2 separate regions of the Homo sapiens genome follow, and region 1 is linked to region 2. Evidence: promoter capture Hi-C in human tissues and cell types (Jung and others, 2019). All regions are on one chromosome and are shown on one strand. Each heading gives the region's core, a stretch centred on a gene start or on the middle of the fragment in contact. The rest is flanking DNA. Distances are from core to core; before and after follow the strand shown.

Evidence for each region. Contacts are between HindIII fragments. The study calls those that stand out against the background at their distance.
Region 1: a contact is called between a fragment that was not itself captured here and the fragment with the promoter of POU3F2 in region 2, in 2 of the 25 tissues and cell types used here (mesendoderm cells and neural progenitor cells).

What each region holds. Positions count from the first base shown.
Region 1 is chr6:98,108,750-98,112,948 of GRCh38, forward strand. No RefSeq gene overlaps it. Among named protein-coding and RNA genes, the nearest start is that of MIR2113, 86 kb to the left of the region's middle. The HindIII fragment of the contact is 5,005 bases long and covers 1-3,840 here.
Region 2 is chr6:98,832,175-98,836,316 of GRCh38, forward strand. It overlaps POU3F2 (POU class 3 homeobox 2), which reads left to right and starts at 2,400. Exons shown (of 1, transcript NM_005604.4): 1 at 2,400-4,142. The coding sequence starts at 2,700. The coding sequence ends at 4,031. RefSeq lists a silencer at 2,341-2,410 and enhancers at 3,049-3,118, 3,117-3,713, 3,714-4,142. The HindIII fragment of the contact is 21,173 bases long and covers 1-4,142 here.

The sequences.
Region 1 (4,199 bases), core at 88-2,587, 720 kb before region 2:
AAGAATTACTTTCTATGGCAGCTGTAGCCCTACAAAATGTATTTCTTAAATACTAAGTCTTGGAAGTAAAAATTAGTCCTTGATTCATGGACTGCTGAATGGTTGTTATGTTAGCAGCCATGAAAACAAAGTTAATCTCCTCGTACATCTTCATCTGAGCTCTTGGGTGATTAGGTGCATTGTTAACGAACAGTATAGCTTGAATGAAATCTTTTTTTTGAGCGGTAGGTCTCAACATCAGTGAGCTTAAAATATTCTGTAAACCTTGCTTTCAACAAATGTGCTGTCATACAGGCTTCGTTGTTTCCATATATAAGGCACGAGCAGAGTAGATTTAGCCTAATTCCTAAGGGCCCTGGGATTTTTGGAATGGTAAATGAGCATTCGCTTCAACTTAGTCACCAGCTGCATTAGCCCCTAACAAGAGAGTCAGCCTGCTCTTTGAAGCTTTGAAGGCAGGTGTTGACTTCTCCTTTCTAGCTATGAAAGAACCAAATGACATCCTCTTCCAACATGTAAGGCAGTTTCATCTACATTGAAAATCTGTTGTTTAGTGTAGTCACCTTTATCAATGATCTTAGATAACTCTTCTGGATAATTTGCTGCAGCTTCTATATCAGCACTTGCTGCTTCACCTTGCACTTTTATGTTATGGAGATAGCTTCTTTCCTTAAATCTCATCAACAATCCTCTACTAGCTTCAAACATTTCTTCTACAGATTCCTCACGTCGATCTGCCTTCATAGAATTGAAGAGTTGGGGGCTTGCTCTGGATTAGGCTTTGTCTTAAAGGAATATTTTGGCTGGTTTGGTTTTCTATCAAGACAATCACTCAAACCTTCTCCATATCAGCAATAAGTCTGTGTTGCTTTCTTCTCATTCTTGTGTTCACTGGAGTAGCACATTTAATTTCTTTCAATAACTTTTACTCTGCATTCACAAGTTGGCTAACTGTTTGATGAAAGCAGCCTAGCTTTCACCCTGTTTCGACTTTTGACATGCCTTCCTCACTAAGCTTACCCATTTCTAGCTTTTGATTTAGAGTGACTCTTCCTTTCACTTGAACACTTACACGCTATAAGTGTTGGCCTCATTTCCATATTGTTGTGTCTCAGGGAATAGAGAGGTCCAAGAAGATGGAAAGAGGCAGTGAATGGCTGGTCAATAGACCAGTCAGAACACATAGAATTTTTACAGCATTTATAGATTAAGTTGGCCAACTTAAATGGGTGCAGTTTGTGGTGCTCCAAACAATGACAATAGTAACATCAGAGATTACCAATCATAGGTTACCATAACAGAAATAAAAATGTTTTAAATATTGCAGGAATTGCCAAAATGTGATGCAGAGATGCAAAGTGAGCACATGCTCTTGGAAAAAATGTCACCAATGGACTTCGCAATGCAGGGTTACTGCAAATCTTCAATTTGTAAAAAATGCAGTATCTAACAAAGTGCATTAAAGTGAAGTGCAATGAAAGGAGATATGCTTGTATATATATAATCATGAATCGCATGGTGATATTTTAGTCAGTGATGGACTACATATATGATGGTGGTCCTATAATATTATACTGAAGCTGAAAAAATTATATAGCCTAGTGGTATCTCAATGATACTGACCCTATGTAAGTCTAGGCTAATATATGTATTTCTACCTATAGGTGAAAGTCTAAATAAATAGCATTACAAATAGGAGTAATTAATCAATAAGTTGGACTGCTGTAATACAACATATACAAAAATTTCAGGTGTTTTTGAAAGGATCTGTACAAATACTTTGGAGATTATATTTGCAACCTGGAATCTGCGAGGTGCCTTCTTAACCAAGAATAGGAATCCAGTTGCCAGAAAAGAATTGATAGGCTTGTTTGATAATATAAAAATGAAAACTTTGTAGAGCTAAAGATTAAATTGACCAAAAACTTGAGGTGTAATATAAGGTAGAAAGAAAGAAATAAGGATCCCTTACATTGTTTCTAATCATTCTCACTAGAATATTATGCATTACTTTTGGACAAATTATTTCACTATTATAATTAGATAAATAGAGTAATGCTTTCAACTGAAATGAAGTCAAAATTCATTCATTTAATTTATTCAGCAAATACATTTCGGGCACCTGTTTGTTATAGACTTGTTTTAGGTCCTGGGGATACAGCTGTAAACAGAACTGAAGAAGAAAAACTTGCCCTCAGGAGCTCACATTCTAAATGAGAAAAATTAATAGGTAGAAAGTAAAATATAAGATGGAAAACGTAAATTATACATTAAAGAAAACAATACAATTTGCAATATGTCAGATAGTGATAAGTGCAGTAGATAATAACTAGGGTAGTGTTATAGGAAGTATGACGTGTGTGTGTGTGTGTGTGTGTGTGTGTGTGTACACAATTTTAGACAGCATACCTAGAGAAGAATGCTCTGGGAAGGTAGTGGGTTAGTTAAGACCTGAAGGAAAAGGGAAACAAATCCTATGAATATTAAAGTTGAGATTATAAGAGGCAGTGGAAAGAACAACATCAAAGGATGTGAGTTGGGAGCATGCCTAGTTTATTTAAAGGACAACGGAGAGGCAAATATGATTTTAGCAGAATGACCCGGCTTGTGAAAAAGAGAGGAATAGATGATAAACTCAGAGGTGACAGGTGACCAGGTTAGTTATAACTTCTTACGTTAGGAAGTCTTTGTCTTTTACCCTGAGTAGGATGGAGAACTATGAGCATAAAAGTGCATTGGTGCACTTTACATTTTTGCAGAATTCCTCTGGCTTCAGCTAGGTATAGTTTGGAGGGGGGCAACGTGAGAGCTGGAGCAGTTGAGAGGCTTTAGTAATAATCTAGGAGGGAGATAATGATAGTTTGATTTAAAGTGGTAATGGATGTGAAAAATGTAAAATATTACTTATAGCAGAAATATAATGGATAACAAGAGTTGACCACTGGGCTTGGCAAAATAGAGTTCACTGATAACTTAGTTTAGGTGTAGTGGAGAGTGGCAAAAAGCCTGTTTGGAGTGGAGTCAAATGAAAGTGGGAGGAGAAAGTGAGATTAGATGTCTTCAAGGAAGTTTTGATATAAAAGGAAGGAGAGAATTAGGCGGAAATGGGAAGGGAAAACGTAGAGAGAAGAAAATTATGGTATGCAAGAAAGGAAAGATTTGCTTGAGCGGTGTACTTGATTAGGCCATATGCGATGTAATCCAGCAGGTGAATGGAGGATTTGGCCTATGTAGGAGTAAGAACAATTCCTCCACAGTAATAGAAAAAAAAAAAGGCAAAATGTAAGGTTACAAAGGTAGGTTTCTAGAAGTGTGAAAAAAATGGAAAAAACTTATGGAAATTCCCTTCGATTGATTTCTATTTTCTCAGTGAAATACAGAGCAAGGACATGCCTGAGAGTGAACATGAGGGAGGAGATACTAGAGACCTGGAGAGGAGGAAATATGAATCATACATTATTCTAGATAATTGAGAGAGTGAACGGAAGTACAGAACAATCGAGCACTAAAAAAAATTGAAGTTTGTGCTCATAAATGTAAAGTGAGTTCAGAAACACTCTGTGTGTCTGTGTGTGTGTGTGTGTGTGTTTCTTCAACTTTATTCAGAGCAACTGTATGTACTAGAATTGGCACAACTGCATTTAATCAAGTTTATTGTTTTGTCATCTGGTAGGATGAATTAAAATAGGTACAAGTCTTCTTGGTGTTAACACAAATAAGTTGAAAACTTATGTCCACACAAAAACCTGCAGCTTTATTTATAATTGCCAAAACTTGGAAACAGCCAAGATGTCATTCAGTAGATGAATGGAAAATGAACTTCCACACAGTGGGATATGGTTCATTGCTAAAGAGAAATTAGTTATCAAGCCATGACGAGACATGGAGTAAACTTAAATGCATATCACTAAGTGAAAGAAGCCAATCTGAAACAGCTATATACTGTATGATTCCTACCATGTAACAGTCTGGAAAATGAAAAACTGTGGAGATAATTAATAAAAGATCAGTGGTTTCCAGAGGTTGAGAAAGGAATTAATAGCCAGAACACAGACGATTTTGTTTTGGGCAATAAAACTACTCTCTGTATGTTACCATAATGGTGTATACATGTCATTAGGCATTTGGTGAAACCCATCAATTGTACAACACCAAGAGTGAAACCTAATGTAAATTATGGACTTTTGGTGACAATGCAG
Region 2 (4,142 bases), core at 1,150-3,649:
AAACTTCATTCTTCTTTCGAGTGTATCATCCTATGGGCTGCAGAAGGCCTTGTGCCTCGAGAAATGTGAAATTAAATCCAGAGAAAAGCAGACACCTGCCCCAGAAAGGTGGGGGAGAAGTATGAGCTGCTTAGCACTTGGACGCGGCCCTTCCCCAGGGCTGGATTCTTCTGTCCGTGGGAGCTCTGAGCTCCAGGTCCGCGAAAAGAAAGGCACGACATGTCAGGAGAAGATGCGGCTGGCGGGCTGTCTGTGCGCTCCCCAAGGCCCAGGGAAAGTCACGCGCCTAGCACAGGGGACGCAGGGCCGAAGCCGGGAGAAGGCGGTTCTGCCCGCCACCCAGCCCCTTGGCTCGCGGTTGCGGAGCCGCGGGCACCAGTCGCTGAGTCTGCGCGCTGAGGCTCGGACTTGTTCATTTTTTCCTAGCTAGACAAAGTTATGGGATTCCTAGCAGCCCCCAGGCGCGCGGCCAGAGTGGCCCCGCGCTTGCGCTGGGACGGAGCGACACGCTGTGTGTGTCCTCGCCTCGCCTCGCCGCGCGGGTGCGCGCGTGGTGGGGGTGCAGGTCCGTCCTGCTGGCGGCCTGTGGGCTCGCCCCTCCCCTATCCATTTCTCTCCCCCACACACGCTCATAAACACAGGACACGTGGAAATTCTCAGCCAAAGCGTCTTGCCCGGGCGGGTGCTCAACGTGGTGATTTATAAACAGCTCAGCCACTCTCCAAAGAGCATGACTCCTTGTTAGTCATGATGAATTTTCTGGCCCGCTCCAGTCTGCTGTCTGGATTCAGATGCTCAGAGGCCCCAAAATGCTCCCTCTGAGCGTTGATTTGGCTGCCCTCTCAAGCCTACGACCGCCGGCAAAACCAGCGATAGAGCGAGGGGTGAGAGGTGGGGACGCGATCCAGGTTCCCTGGGGTCTGTCATTCCCTTCCCGGCAGTAACTGTTGATTCGCTTTACAGCGCCCATGTACACACCCGGCCCTGCGTGGCGGTCACGCCGCTCCAGCCTGGGTCCGCGCCCAAGTTCTAGCTACCGGGCTTGCAGGCTCGGAAACTCGCAGGCGGCACCTGCTCTGGGCGGCTAAAGAACTGATGGCGCGACGCGCCCGCGCTCCGTAGAGCGGCGCTGCGGGTGCATGGTCCCATAGTCTTGCTCTGGAGTTCACTGCTGAAAGCTGAGCTGGGAGCTTGGCCAGGGAGCGCCAAAGACATAGACTAACCCCACCCGCTAGCGCCCACCGAAGTTACTGATTAGGAAGGTTCCCCTGGCATCAGCCCATTTGCTTCACACACTCTTCCTCCTTCCCAAGGGGCTAACGGAAAAGTTGCACCTACCAGCGGTAGGAGCACGGGGAATCGCGCACGCAGGCCCTCCGCGCGGCTTCCCGGAGCGGCCTTTGGCGACTGCGCCGCCCCTACAAGGCCGCACACCCCTCGCCAGCACTCCGGCAGCCTCGCACAAGACGGAGCCCACGCAGGCTTCTAGTTTTCTAAACCAAAAACTGCACGCGCCGGCGTGTGAATCTGACGGAGAGACTTTTAGAGTTTTGTTTGGTTTTCAGTTCAGACCGCTACGCTGTCAGAGCAAGCAACTCCGAGCCTTGATGGGAATGACTTACAAGCCGCGGTGCGGGCTGAGCCTGCCTCTCTCGGGGTTCTTTCCCCAAGGGAGTGGGAGACAATTGGGCCTGGAACCTAAAAGGAAGAGAGCCTGTGCTAGCCGCGGGGTAGAGGGGAAGGAGAAGAGCTTTGGGCCGAAGTGTCCGCACACCCTGGAGCAAGAGACACTTGTGCACTGAAATTCTAACCGTGGGATGCAAGGAGAGTTGAACAGGGGAACAGGTCTGGCTCTTGGCTCTAGGTTTAAGAGATACACACTGTGTGTGTGTCCCTAGGTGAATAAAAATCCGACTCCCGCTGGCTCGGTGCGACCCAGCTTTTCCCTTACCCCCTCCGTTTCCCCATCTTAAAGCCCTATTGGGAAACGAAAGTGGACACCACTGCCTCCCGCCCCCCACCCCAATCCAAGTCTTCCAAGTGTCTGTGGCCGATAAGAGCACCGGGACCGCCCCCCTGCCGGTCTTCTCTGCCTGGGAGACAGATGGGGGGCGGGGCCCATCCGAGAGAGGGCGGAGGAGGCCCCGGGTGAGGAAGAAGCGGGGGGGTGAGAACTGAGAGAATCTGAATCGGGAGGCGAAGGGGACGGGGAGGAGGGCTAGGAGGACTCCGAGCCCGGGGGAGGGGGAGGGAGTAGCTCTGCGCCAATCAGTGGCGCCGGCCTGGGAGGTTGCTAGCGGTATCCACGTAAATCAAAGGGCGCGGAGCCAATGGGAGGGGGCGGAGGGGGCGGGGCCCAGGCGCGTGCCGCTGCGAGCCGGCGCTGCCAAGAGAGCGGGAGAGAGCTGGAGAGAGCAGGGAGAGGGGGGAGCGCCGAGCTAGTCAGAGAGTGAGCGAGAGCGAGAAGGAGGGAGAGGAGGAGAAAGAGAGCGAGGGCGGGCGGGAGGCGGCGGCGGCGGCAGCAGCAGCAGTAATAGCAGGAGCAGCAACAGAAGGCGTCGGAGCGGGCGTCGGAGCTGCCCGCTGTGGGAGAGAGAGGAGACAGAAAGAGCGAGCGAGGAGAGGGAGCCCGAGGCGAAAAAGTAACTGTCAAATGCGCGGCTCCTTTAACCGGAGCGCTCAGTCCGGCTCCGAGAGTCATGGCGACCGCAGCGTCTAACCACTACAGCCTGCTCACCTCCAGCGCCTCCATCGTGCACGCCGAGCCGCCCGGCGGCATGCAGCAGGGCGCGGGGGGCTACCGCGAAGCGCAGAGCCTGGTGCAGGGCGACTACGGCGCTCTGCAGAGCAACGGACACCCGCTCAGCCACGCTCACCAGTGGATCACCGCGCTGTCCCACGGCGGCGGCGGCGGGGGCGGTGGCGGCGGCGGGGGGGGCGGGGGCGGCGGCGGGGGCGGCGGCGACGGCTCCCCGTGGTCCACCAGCCCCCTGGGCCAGCCGGACATCAAGCCCTCGGTGGTGGTGCAGCAGGGCGGCCGCGGAGACGAGCTGCACGGGCCAGGCGCCCTGCAGCAGCAGCATCAGCAGCAGCAACAGCAACAGCAGCAGCAACAGCAGCAACAGCAGCAGCAGCAGCAGCAACAGCGGCCGCCGCATCTGGTGCACCACGCCGCTAACCACCACCCGGGACCCGGGGCATGGCGGAGCGCGGCGGCTGCAGCGCACCTCCCACCCTCCATGGGAGCGTCCAACGGCGGCTTGCTCTACTCGCAGCCCAGCTTCACGGTGAACGGCATGCTGGGCGCCGGCGGGCAGCCGGCCGGTCTGCACCACCACGGCCTGCGGGACGCGCACGACGAGCCACACCATGCCGACCACCACCCGCACCCGCACTCGCACCCACACCAGCAGCCGCCGCCCCCGCCGCCCCCGCAGGGTCCGCCTGGCCACCCAGGCGCGCACCACGACCCGCACTCGGACGAGGACACGCCGACCTCGGACGACCTGGAGCAGTTCGCCAAGCAGTTCAAGCAGCGGCGGATCAAACTGGGATTTACCCAAGCGGACGTGGGGCTGGCTCTGGGCACCCTGTATGGCAACGTGTTCTCGCAGACCACCATCTGCAGGTTTGAGGCCCTGCAGCTGAGCTTCAAGAACATGTGCAAGCTGAAGCCTTTGTTGAACAAGTGGTTGGAGGAGGCGGACTCGTCCTCGGGCAGCCCCACGAGCATAGACAAGATCGCAGCGCAAGGGCGCAAGCGGAAAAAGCGGACCTCCATCGAGGTGAGCGTCAAGGGGGCTCTGGAGAGCCATTTCCTCAAATGCCCCAAGCCCTCGGCCCAGGAGATCACCTCCCTCGCGGACAGCTTACAGCTGGAGAAGGAGGTGGTGAGAGTTTGGTTTTGTAACAGGAGACAGAAAGAGAAAAGGATGACCCCTCCCGGAGGGACTCTGCCGGGCGCCGAGGATGTGTACGGGGGGAGTAGGGACACTCCACCACACCACGGGGTGCAGACGCCCGTCCAGTGAACTCGAGCTGGGGGAGGGGCAGAGCGCGGGGCTCCCCCTCCCCTTCGGTCCTTGGCCCTTTCCCGGCCCTCTTGTTCCCTCTCTAACTTCTGATTGTTCTTTTATTTTTAA